2 separate regions of the Homo sapiens genome follow, and region 2 is linked to region 1. Evidence: promoter capture Hi-C in human tissues and cell types (Jung and others, 2019). All regions are on one chromosome and are shown on one strand. The core of a region is centred on a gene start or on the middle of the fragment in contact, and the rest is flanking DNA. Distances in the headings are between cores, read along the strand shown.

The links. Contacts are between HindIII fragments. The study calls those that stand out against the background at their distance.
Region 2: a fragment that was not itself captured here is called in contact with the fragment with the promoter of THSD7A in region 1 in 1 of the 25 tissues and cell types used here (mesendoderm cells).

Annotation. Positions count from the first base shown.
Region 1 is chr7:11,829,747-11,835,074 of GRCh38, reverse strand. It overlaps THSD7A (thrombospondin type 1 domain containing 7A), which reads left to right and starts at 2,877. Exons shown (of 28, transcript NM_015204.3): 1 at 2,877-3,318. The coding sequence starts at 3,129. RefSeq lists enhancers at 2,200-2,739, 2,740-3,280 and a silencer at 4,838-5,132. The HindIII fragment of the contact is 9,895 bases long and covers 1-5,328 here.
Region 2 is chr7:12,306,272-12,311,599 of GRCh38, reverse strand. No RefSeq gene overlaps it. Among named protein-coding and RNA genes, the nearest start is that of VWDE, 95 kb to the left of the region's middle. RefSeq lists a silencer at 3,310-3,510. The HindIII fragment of the contact is 3,913 bases long and covers 1,239-5,151 here.

The DNA.
Region 1 (5,328 bases), core at 1,628-4,127:
ATAGCAAAATTAATAGAGGCAGAATAAAGACACCTATCACATGAGAGGTGATAAGTTTAGAATTTTTTCATTTCTAAATATTAAAAAAATATGCTTTGCATTTGTCATTCATTGGTTTGGAGAACTTTTATCGCACTGGCTCATTAATATTTGAACAGTTCTCCATGAAAAATGACGAACGATTTACTTCATGGCAGGCTGTACAGATGGTCAATTTAATCTGCATCCTTGAGACTTCTCATGACTAAATTTTGACATCATGTCATTAAACATTTGTGTATTATTATTTATGTCATATTCTAGGAAACAAATATTGCTATGTCTTGCTATCTCTTGCCATCTATCAGTTTTATTGATAGGATTTATCTACCTAGACACTATACCTTTCACAAAGGAACACATATCAGGATATATACATCACTTTTGTCTCCTCAGAGACCCATACATTTTTGTCCTCAAGTGCAATAATGACATTGTTATGAACAAATGTGTGGCAGGTGTGGAGACAAATGTTTATATGACTTGGATTCTCTAACCTTGTTCAGAGATATCTTTGCTGATGATTGTGTGTGTTTGTGTATGTGCATGTGTGTGTGTGACTCCTAGGCCTTGTGTACGTTGAAATTGAAAGAAGGAAACCAAATGTTGGCTATTTTGAAACAGTACTGCAGAACATATCACCATAATTGTGTATTGTAAATGGCAGCAAATTGGAACCTAGAAATTGACCCCGTATAATGCTTGAATTTGTAGCTATGATGTTTACACTCTTGACAAGTTGAGTTATTATTATACCACCATGGGTAAATATAAAGGTCAGAATCTTAAAATTTCTTTTGACAATAAGCTATTAAGTATAGTGTCGGATGGCTTTTTGAAGGGCTAGGTAAATGACCTTGCACATTAACTTAATTCCTCAGACTCTCTGTCCTCTGTTATATAATGAATTCCCACTTGGTGAATTGATTGGCGCTTCCCACGAATGCGTAGAATGGCTGCTGTTAGCAGAGTATGTCCAGTTTGAAATACTTCCTGTGCCAGAGTTAGAGGATTTCAAGGTTTAGGGCACTAACAGTAGCTGAGAAATACAAGCAGAAAGGATGGGAAAATGATTCCTTGTGGAGTGGACATGGAAATTTTCCTGAAACGACAGAACCCAGGAAGCAATAGCAGGTCCCATTTCCTTCTGTGGTGTAACTGTCAAAAGAAGTGATCCTTCAGGGAACCATACATTAGTTAAGATCAGGCTTCCTTTTTATTCCTTATCAACCTATAATCTTTTGATTGTTGCCTGTTTTTCACGAGTGAAGAAATAGTAAGCCACACTAGCTTATCTCTCCTAATCACAGACTCACAGCGCTCGGGCTCTCTGAGCTTTTAATTCCTTCTTAGAGGCCTAACAGAGCGGAAAGTAAACAAAGACCAAATTTGCAACCTTCAACGTAGCTAATTTCCTCTGATGTCAGAATACTTAAACAGGCAGGACCTGGGAATTATTTGATCAAACCCGCTTTTAATCTAATGCATGCAGAGGGGCTGTGTCTGGAAGGCTTTGCAAAATGACAAGGGTCCCAAGGGAGCCTTATGGAAGGTTTCCTCTTTCAGAAAGAGTAGCTTCCTCATCTTAAACTCTAGGGTAGCTATGTTGGAGTAAATTCATAAAAAGTAGTTTTCCTGCTTTTAAAATTTTATTTTATTTGGCTGAAAATTGCTGATGGGATAGTAGTTTTCTTTGGCTTTCCGTTTGCTGAATTTTTAATGGTTAAATGCCTACTATTTTAGCTTTACTGTGAAATGAATTAATAATAAAATATATTATTATTAGCTAAAGGGAGAAGGAGAAAGGGGAAAGCATTATCCGACTTCACACACATTCTTCTATTACTACTGGTAGAAGAAAGTGAAAACACAAAGGACAAAAGATGCAAACACATGTGGTTCCTTATTTAGATTGCGACAGGCATTTTGCTACAGTAAGAGTTAAGAAAAATCGGTGTCAGGGAAATTTTAAATGAAGAATTTACTAATTCCAAGATATCCAGACAGCATTACTGACTCAGTTTGACTCACAACTATCTGAATACTTAGAAGTAGCATATTTTTGAGGGAAAGAAGTAGATGAAGGGACAGAACTCTATACCTGAAATATAATTTTAATTTTAAGGGTTTTTTTTTTGTACAATTGTATTTATGTAATTAGGTAGCATTGCAAATACTCATTAACACTAATTCAGTTTTAAAGGCTATTAAAAGACAATTTAATTTGTCACAGAGCATCAATATTGCTCATATTTTTATTGATAATAGATTAAGTTAAAAACAACATTTAAAGAAGGGTTTAAGTGCATTTTGACAAGTCAACATTTCTGCTCTCGTGTTTTCACACCTGATCTCAAATACTGCTCCCCACACAAAGTAATTCAGAAGCCATGGCTTAAAAATAGATAATAAACACTGATGCTTTGTGTAAATACGTACTAAGAATAGCATGCCACTAGATCTAGCATTTGACTCCTTGGATGACAGTGAATATCAATGCCTGTTATTTGTCATTCTGAAATCTGCCGGGTGATGATTCTTTTTATTGGTGCATCCTTCCAAACATATTTCATCGCACCATGTGCACCGGAGTTCTTTAGGCGGGTATGTCGGAGGTGGGTGTCGCCTGGCTGGCCCCTCTCCCCTTTGCTCGCCCCCTTTCTCGCCCTCGCGCTCTCGCCTCCCTCTGCCTCCAGCCCCCTCTGCTCCTTTGGGCTCACGCCCCCCTCCTCCCCCTCCAGCTGGCGGGGGCTGCGCTGCCTCCCAGACCTAGCAGACCTGCTCAGTCAGCTGGGGCCCCCTGAGGACAGTTGCCTCCGGAGCCGCCGGGACCTGCCATTCTGCGAGGAATGGCAGCGGCAGCAGCATCCCCGCCAGAGGCGGCGGCGGCGGCGGCAGCGGCCACGGCCACCACCGCGGACGCTATTGTTCCCTGGTGTTAGACGCGCTCTCCCTCCTTCTCATCTGAAGCGAACAATAGCAGGAAAGAGCTTTGCTTTCTGTACTCTTTGAAAAGACGTTCCAAGAGCGGAGAAAAATTCCCTGCCGAGCGTGCTACGGCTCTGGACCCTGGAGTGGCTGCAGGCGGCATGGGGCTGCAAGCCAGGCGCTGGGCGTCCGGGAGCCGGGGCGCTGCGGGGCCGCGCCGGGGCGTCCTGCAGCTGCTGCCGCTGCCGCTGCCGCTGCCGCTGCTCCTGCTGCTGCTGCTACGCCCGGGCGCCGGCAGGGCTGCGGCGCAGGGCGAGGCGGAGGCGCCCACCCTCTATCTGTGGAAGACTGGTAAGTGGGACGGAGTTACCCTTTCCCCATCTTCACATCTGGGGCCACATTAAGGAGCTGGTGGGCTTCTGTAGGGACCCCGGTGCTTTTGGATGGCTTGGTTATGCTGGTATCCTAAGGTAAAAAGTATGATTTCTTAGGAAGCAAATAGGTCATGTCCGATGCAATTAGGAAAGAAAAGCATAACAACTAAGAGGCAACAGTGAGTAGCTGGAATATTTCTCTCGCAGCTCTGTAATGAGGGCAACGCGCACTTCCATGATGAAGTGCATTATTTTTAACCCCTGGATTTTCATTCTACTAGGAGTTTCTCAAACAGATTTCTAGCAAAGAACAAGCAAAGAGTTTAGTCTCAGTCTTTATTCTTTAGGCAAAGCAATATGCTCACTGTCATGACATTTGTGGATATAGAGTTGAATTTGTTAACTTTAGCTTTGTGATATGTGGGACACCTCAGAAACAAGCCAAGTGAGGGCGGTTCCAACAATTAAAGGCAAATGGGGCTCCAGTGAGCCTTCAGGGAAAGACTGAAAACTCAATTATTAACTAGCGAGTCGGAGGATTTTTAAAGTGTACAACTTTTAGGATGTCTGGGTTCAAACTTTCTCTTCCTTCCTTGAGAATTGTTTTGCTTTGTTTTTCAACCACCCAACAAAAGCAGCTACTAACTGCCCATCATTACCCATTGGCAAAATGCTTGGAGTTTCTGGCGGGGGCCGTGACAGGCAGGAAAACAATACGGAGTGAGGAATTACCAACCCCTTTTCTGCGGGTTCGCTTTCTCTCTGCATTAAAAAAACATTGAGAATTCCTTAGGGGACCTGAAACTTCACATGTTCATAGGAATAAAATGGGAAAAGATTATTCCTGTTGCTTAGAGCTAGGGGGTAATTTAAGAATAACTTGGTCATGCCAAACATTAAGAGAATGTTGTAGTTGAAAGGGAAAGTATGTATTCGTCATGGGGTTGCAAACAGGTTTCAGGGAGTGAGTGTCTTTTCCTGCTTCAGCCCATCTCTGCACCACTACTGAAGAGACAGCTCAGTCTACTCTACAATTGCATCACTATCGATATCTGGAATTTTTAAAGAAGTTGCAGCTATCCAGAAATTTAGTGAGGAGATTAAACAGAAATTTATTTAAAGTCAAAGTACACAATTTGTCTTAGAAGATTACATGAAACATATACACATTTTAAAAAGCAAGATTATTCTTGCTAACACCTTAAGTTTGAAGATCAGTTGAGTAATGAATTCAAATGAAATAAAATTAATTTACTTCAATTTGAAACGAAGATTTGAAGATCTCTAATTTAGCGTAAGCTAGGGTTTTACTTGTTAAAAGCACATTCATAATGACAAACATTAATCAAATTATAATTTACCATTAAATGGTATCATATGGATGCTTGGGGAGAGCTTCTTAGGTAAGTCAGTGTAGGATGAAATAGTAGTTGCCTAGTTGAAATTTATACTAGCAAAGTAACAAGAGCCAAGCAATAATTCAGATGGAAAAGAGCCCAGCCAACATTCACTGTACAGCATCTGAGGTGTCAATATATGTCATCATAAATGTCATGGTAGGAACACAAGCCAATAAACAGTTTAAAATAGTGGGAAGCTCTCAGAAACAATGATATGGAGACCTTGATTCCAGTGCCAGTCCTAGCTCTTGCTAGCTGTAGGAATTTTGGCAGTTCACTTAAATTTTGACCCTTAGTTTTCTCAACTGCATGTAAATGTGATGACACCTTCTTCTGCCTATCTGCAGTGTGTGAAAATCACATGAGTTATGAGAAAGTGATTGGTAAACTTCAAAGCTGTATGCAAATGTAAGCTAGTGTGATGAGGATGTTAAAGATATTTCTTGACTGGTGATCCTTGGTTTGGTAAAAAAAAAAAATAGTTCATTCAATTGGAAAGCAAAATAATGACTTCTTTATTTTTTTTTTTTTACCAAAGGGAAAGGAGACTTTAATATATCTGTAAAGGAGTTGAACGTAGTTCTCAA
Region 2 (5,328 bases), core at 1,946-4,445, 480 kb before region 1:
TGCTTTCTGTCTTCCTCCTGCTCCGGCCATGTGAAGTGGTGGCTCTCCCTTGCCTTTCACTGTGACTGAAAGTTTCCTGAGGCCTTCCCAGAAGGTGCTATGCTTCCTGTACAGCCTGCAGGACTGTGAGCCAATTAAACCTCTTTTTTAAATAAATTACCCAGTCTCAGGTATAGCAGTACATGTGAAAACAGATGAATACACTACTTTTCCATACAGTTTAATTGTTTATTTACATGCAATTACTATAATATTAATATGTATGTAAGTATGGTTGAAAGAGCAGAGAGGTTGGCTTTATAGACAGAAAGGGGCTGAGGAAAGCAGAAACAGAATAAAAAGTCATTGGTCATTTCAAATTTATTTTCCTTATAAAGGTTAAACAGAGGGACTTTCTTATATCACAGCTAAAACTGGCTTGTTTGTGGATTTGGCTATTATCTCTCACTCTCCTGACTTCTTGAAAGGTCAGATAAACAACTTAGTTTTGGCTTAGTGGAACTTCAGCGTAAGGGACTAGTGTAGAAGCTCAGTCCAAACCAAATGGCCTTCTATAATTTTATTTTATGTATTTACTTTTTTAGAGACAGGATCTCCTTCTGTTGCCCAGACTAAAATGCAGTGGTGTGATCATGGCTCATTGCAGCCTCAAACTCCTGGGCTTAAGCAATCCTTTTGCCTCAGTCTCCTGATAAGGTGGGACCACAGATAAAAGACACAATGCCTGGCTAATTATTTTTTGTAAAGACGAGGCCTCCCTATGTTGCCTAGGCTGGTCTTGAACTCCTGGGCTCAAGCGATTCTCTGCTGGGATTATAGGTGTGAGCCACTGCACCCAATCTACCTTCCATAGATTTCACTTAAAACTTCCTCCCTTTTTGTCACACTCTCACTGAGAGTGTGATGAAACTTAGGTCATCAATGCTGCTCTCAGTCACCATAATTTTGGGTTTTGGTCTCAACATGTCTTGGGAAAAGCTGTCCACAACATGAAGTCATCAACTTCTCATCCTGGTTTACAGGTTGAATGTCTCTGGTTATTGTTAAATTATCTGTGTAGCTCACACATCAAACATGAGATCTGTCCTTGAAATTTACATCAAGTTGTCCAAACTCAATTTATAGGGCTTCAGGAACAGAGCAGTTCTTGTAGGGTTGTAACCAGATATTGGAGGAAATATAGTCAGATATTGGATGTAGCTAGATATTGGAGGAAAACAGAATTCAGGATCCACTCTAGTCTACAGGTAGATAAAAAAAACTCAAACAATAAGCACGGCTGCAATCTAATAACAGGTTCACTATAGTCTTTCTTCATCAATATAATTTTTCTCTTAACAGCGACGCCCCCACTTACACCAAAGATAATCCGAGTAAGACTAATTTTGTTTGCAAAATAAGTCTAGTCTCATGAAAATTGGCCTATTTAAGTGCACCAAGAATAGCAATTGAAAACATAGCCCTTTTATTTTTTCCAAGTTTGCTTTGCTAAACTTTTGATAAGCAATATCAGGCTGGACTTTTAAAGACCTCTTGAGGCTAGAAAGCCAAGCCAATGCATACTTGAGACTTTTCCTGCAGTACCTATAGATTCGTTCTATGTACATTCTGAAATATGGCATCCCAGTCCAAGGCTTGGAAATATAGTCAATATTACCAATTGTATTTTATTATAAAAGCATATTTTTTTGAATTTATGAACATATATTGCCATAAAATAAGAATACTCATGAATAGTTTCTGGATTTTGGAGGGATTAGATAGGAAAAAGTAAACGTTTCAATTTTTGATCACAAGGGTATACCTTACCAAATTGCTATAAGCTATAGATAGCTTTTTTAAAAGTTTCCTTAAATCTGAAAAACAAAATGTTAAAAGAACCAGCAATATTTAAAATTTTAAAAGCCATAAAAATCCGTATCTTTCCTCATAATTTTTTCATGTTTTCAAACTGAGACATGTTTAGCTTCTCTGTATCACATAAAAGCAAGATGCCAAAAGATGTATACTTTAAACTTAGATTCAGCAATTAATATTTCAGTTTAATTTAGAAATGACTTGAGTATTTCATGAATATCTATTACATATATTAGCATAACTTTAAGATTTCAAGTTATTGAAAAAGATGTTTGCCACTATGACAACTTTATTTATAAACTTTTATCCCATTTATATTAACCTAATTTACTTGTTGTTAACAATTATGCTTGAATTGCTTCTTCAACAAAACTAGCCATTGAAGTTTGGAAAATGCTATGCAAAATATGTCATTTTGGTAGATTGATTTTTGAGCATACCTCATTTTATCATACTTTACAGAACTTTACAAATACTGTGTTTTTTACAAATTGAAGGTTTGTGGTAACCCTGAATCAAACAAATCTATCAGCAACAATTTTTCCAACAGCATATGCTTAGTTCATGTTTCTGTGTCACATTTTGGTAATTCTTGGAATATTTCAAACAATTATTATATCTGTTATGTTGATCTGCAATCAGTGATCTTTGATGTTACTATTGTAGTTGTTTTGGAGTTCCACAAATTGCACTAATATAAGATGGCAAATTTAATCCATAAATTTTGTCAGTTCTGACTCCTGCCACAACAGGCAGTTCCCTCATCTCCTCCTTTTCTCAGGCCTCCCTCTTCCCTGAGACACAGTAATATTGAAATTAGGCCAATTAATAACCCTAAAATGGCCTCTAATGTTCAATGAAAGAAAGAGTTGTACGTATCTTACCTTAAATCAAAAGCTAGAAATGATTAAGCTTAGTGAGAAAGCCATGTTGAAAGCTGGGATAGACCAAAAGCTAGACCTTTTGTGCCAAACAGTTAAGTTGTGAATGCACGGGACGTTTTTAAAGAAAATTAAAAGTGCCACTCCAGTAAACACATACGGGAAAATTACATAGCCTTATTTGCTGATGTGAAGAAAGTTTTAGTAGTCTAGATAGAAGATAAAACCTGCTTTAACATTCCCTGCAGAGCAATACCCTAACTCTCTTTCATTCTATGAAGGCTGAGAGAGGTGAAGAAGCTGAAAATGAGATGTTTCAAGGTAGCAGAGGTTGGTTTATGATGTTGAAGAAAAGAAGCTGTTTCCATAGCATAAAAGTACAAGGTTAAGTAGCAAGCCCTGATATAGAAGCTGTATCTAGTTATCTAGAAGATCTAGTTAATTTCATTCATGAAGGTGGCTATACTAAACAAGAGATTTTCAATGTTGATTAAACAGTCTTCTATTAAAAATAGATGCCATCTAGGACTTTCACAGCTAAAGAGGAGAAGTCAGTGCTTGGCTTCACAGCTTCAGAGGATAGGCTTACTCTCTTCTTAGGAGCTAATGCAGCTGGTGACTTTAAGTTGAAGCCAATCCTCCTTATCCTTCCTTAAAATCCTAGGGCTCTTAAAAGTTGTTCTAAATCCACTCAAGATAATTAGAATTAGAAGTGGAACCCGAAGATGTGACTGACTTGCAGCAATTTCATGATAAAACTTATAAAAAACCAAAGGAGTTGGCCTGGTACAGGAGTTGGGATTACACCTGTAATCCCAGCACTTTGGGAGGCCGAGGCAGGTGGATCACGAGGTCGGGAGTTTGAGACCAGCCTGACCAACACGGTGAAACCTCGTCTCTACTAAAAATACAAGAATTAGCTGGGCATGGTGGCGTGTGCCTGTAATCCCAGCTACTTGGGAGGCTGAAGCAGGAGAATCACTTGAACCTGGGAGGTGGAGGTTGCAGTGAGCTGGGATTGTGCCACTGCACTGTAGCTTGGGCGACAGAGTGAGACTCCATCTCAAAAAAAAGAAAAAAAAAGGAGTTGCTCTTTAAGGATGAGCAAAGAAAGTGGCTTCTTGAGAGGGAATCTACTCCTGGTAAAGATGATGTAAACATTATTGAAATAACAAGATATAGAATATTACAACACCTTCGTTAACAAAGCAGAGGCAGAGTTTGAGAGGCTTGACTCCAATTTGGGAAGAAGTTCTGCTATAGGTAAAATGCTGTCAAACAGGAGCATATGCTACAGAGAAATAAGTGCATGAAATGGTCAATCGAACCGGCAAACTTCACTGTTGCCTTATTTCCACAGCCATACCAATCTTTCTTATTGAACTGAACTTGTATTTGCTTGCCTGGCACCAGAAAGCCAAATGATACCAACGTTTGCAGCTAGAGAAAGATGGGCATTTATTGCAGGGTGCCAAGCAAGAAGGACAGGCAGTTAATGCTTAAGAAGAAGTTTCTGATGGCTTACAAGTAAGAGTTTATTAGGCAGGTGCACATTTCAGGAGAGCAGAAGTAATAGGCAAAATCATAATACATGAAGGTTATACATTGGTTTGGTCCCAAAAAGTAGGATTTCTTGAAGCAGGGGCTTACAGATTATAGGAAGATTCAGAGATTCTTTGATTTGCAATTAAGGAAGCAAGGCTTTGTTCAAAAACTTGTGGTTGACGGAAAGAAATGTGAAGGTTTGGGCTTAACATAGGTTAGTTAAGATAGGGGAAACTGTTAATCATTATAGGGTGCCATGCCAGAGTCAGGCCAGGAGAACAAGCCATAATTTACTGGGTCAGAGCAACCAGGTTAGTAAGAATAATGGCTTGAAGGTGTGACTCTTTCCAGGTCCCTCAAGGAGAAACTCAGAACAAAGACTGGCAGCCAGAGTCCAGTCCTCAGTTCTCTTTTATCTGAGATCTAGGTGACAGCGGTCATCATTTTCCATCTGCTGAACATCCTGATTTCTGAAAAATAACTCAAGAACGAATGTATCTTTTAGTTTCTCTAGAGAACCAAAACACTCTGAGACGTTGACTTGCTTGGGTGACTTGTTTAAGCTACTTACTTTGTAGTTTAAATAATAGTTCTTCCCAAAAGCTATAAACAAATTATAAACTAAATAGCTTGTTTAAGCTATTAATATCTTCTTCCTTATTGGGTTCTTTAATTCTCAAGGCTAGCTGGAATTTCCTTGGAAAGCAAGAATTTTCCTTTATTTTCATGTGGTTATTTTCTTGGGGTTGGTGGGGGGCTGGCAAACCCCTAAGTGGGGTCTCTGTTCTTACCTTTAGCTACTACCACCTTGATCAGTGAGCATCCATCATCGTCAAGGCAGGACCCTCTAACAGCAAAGATTGACTTGCTGAAGGCTCAGATGATAGCTAACATTTTTTAGCAATAAAGTATTTTTAAATTAAGGAATGTACATTGTATTTCTAGAAATAATGATATTGCATAATTAATAGACTATAGTACAGTATAAATATAACTTATATACACTGCATAACCAAAAAATTGTGTAACTCATGTTCTTGTGATA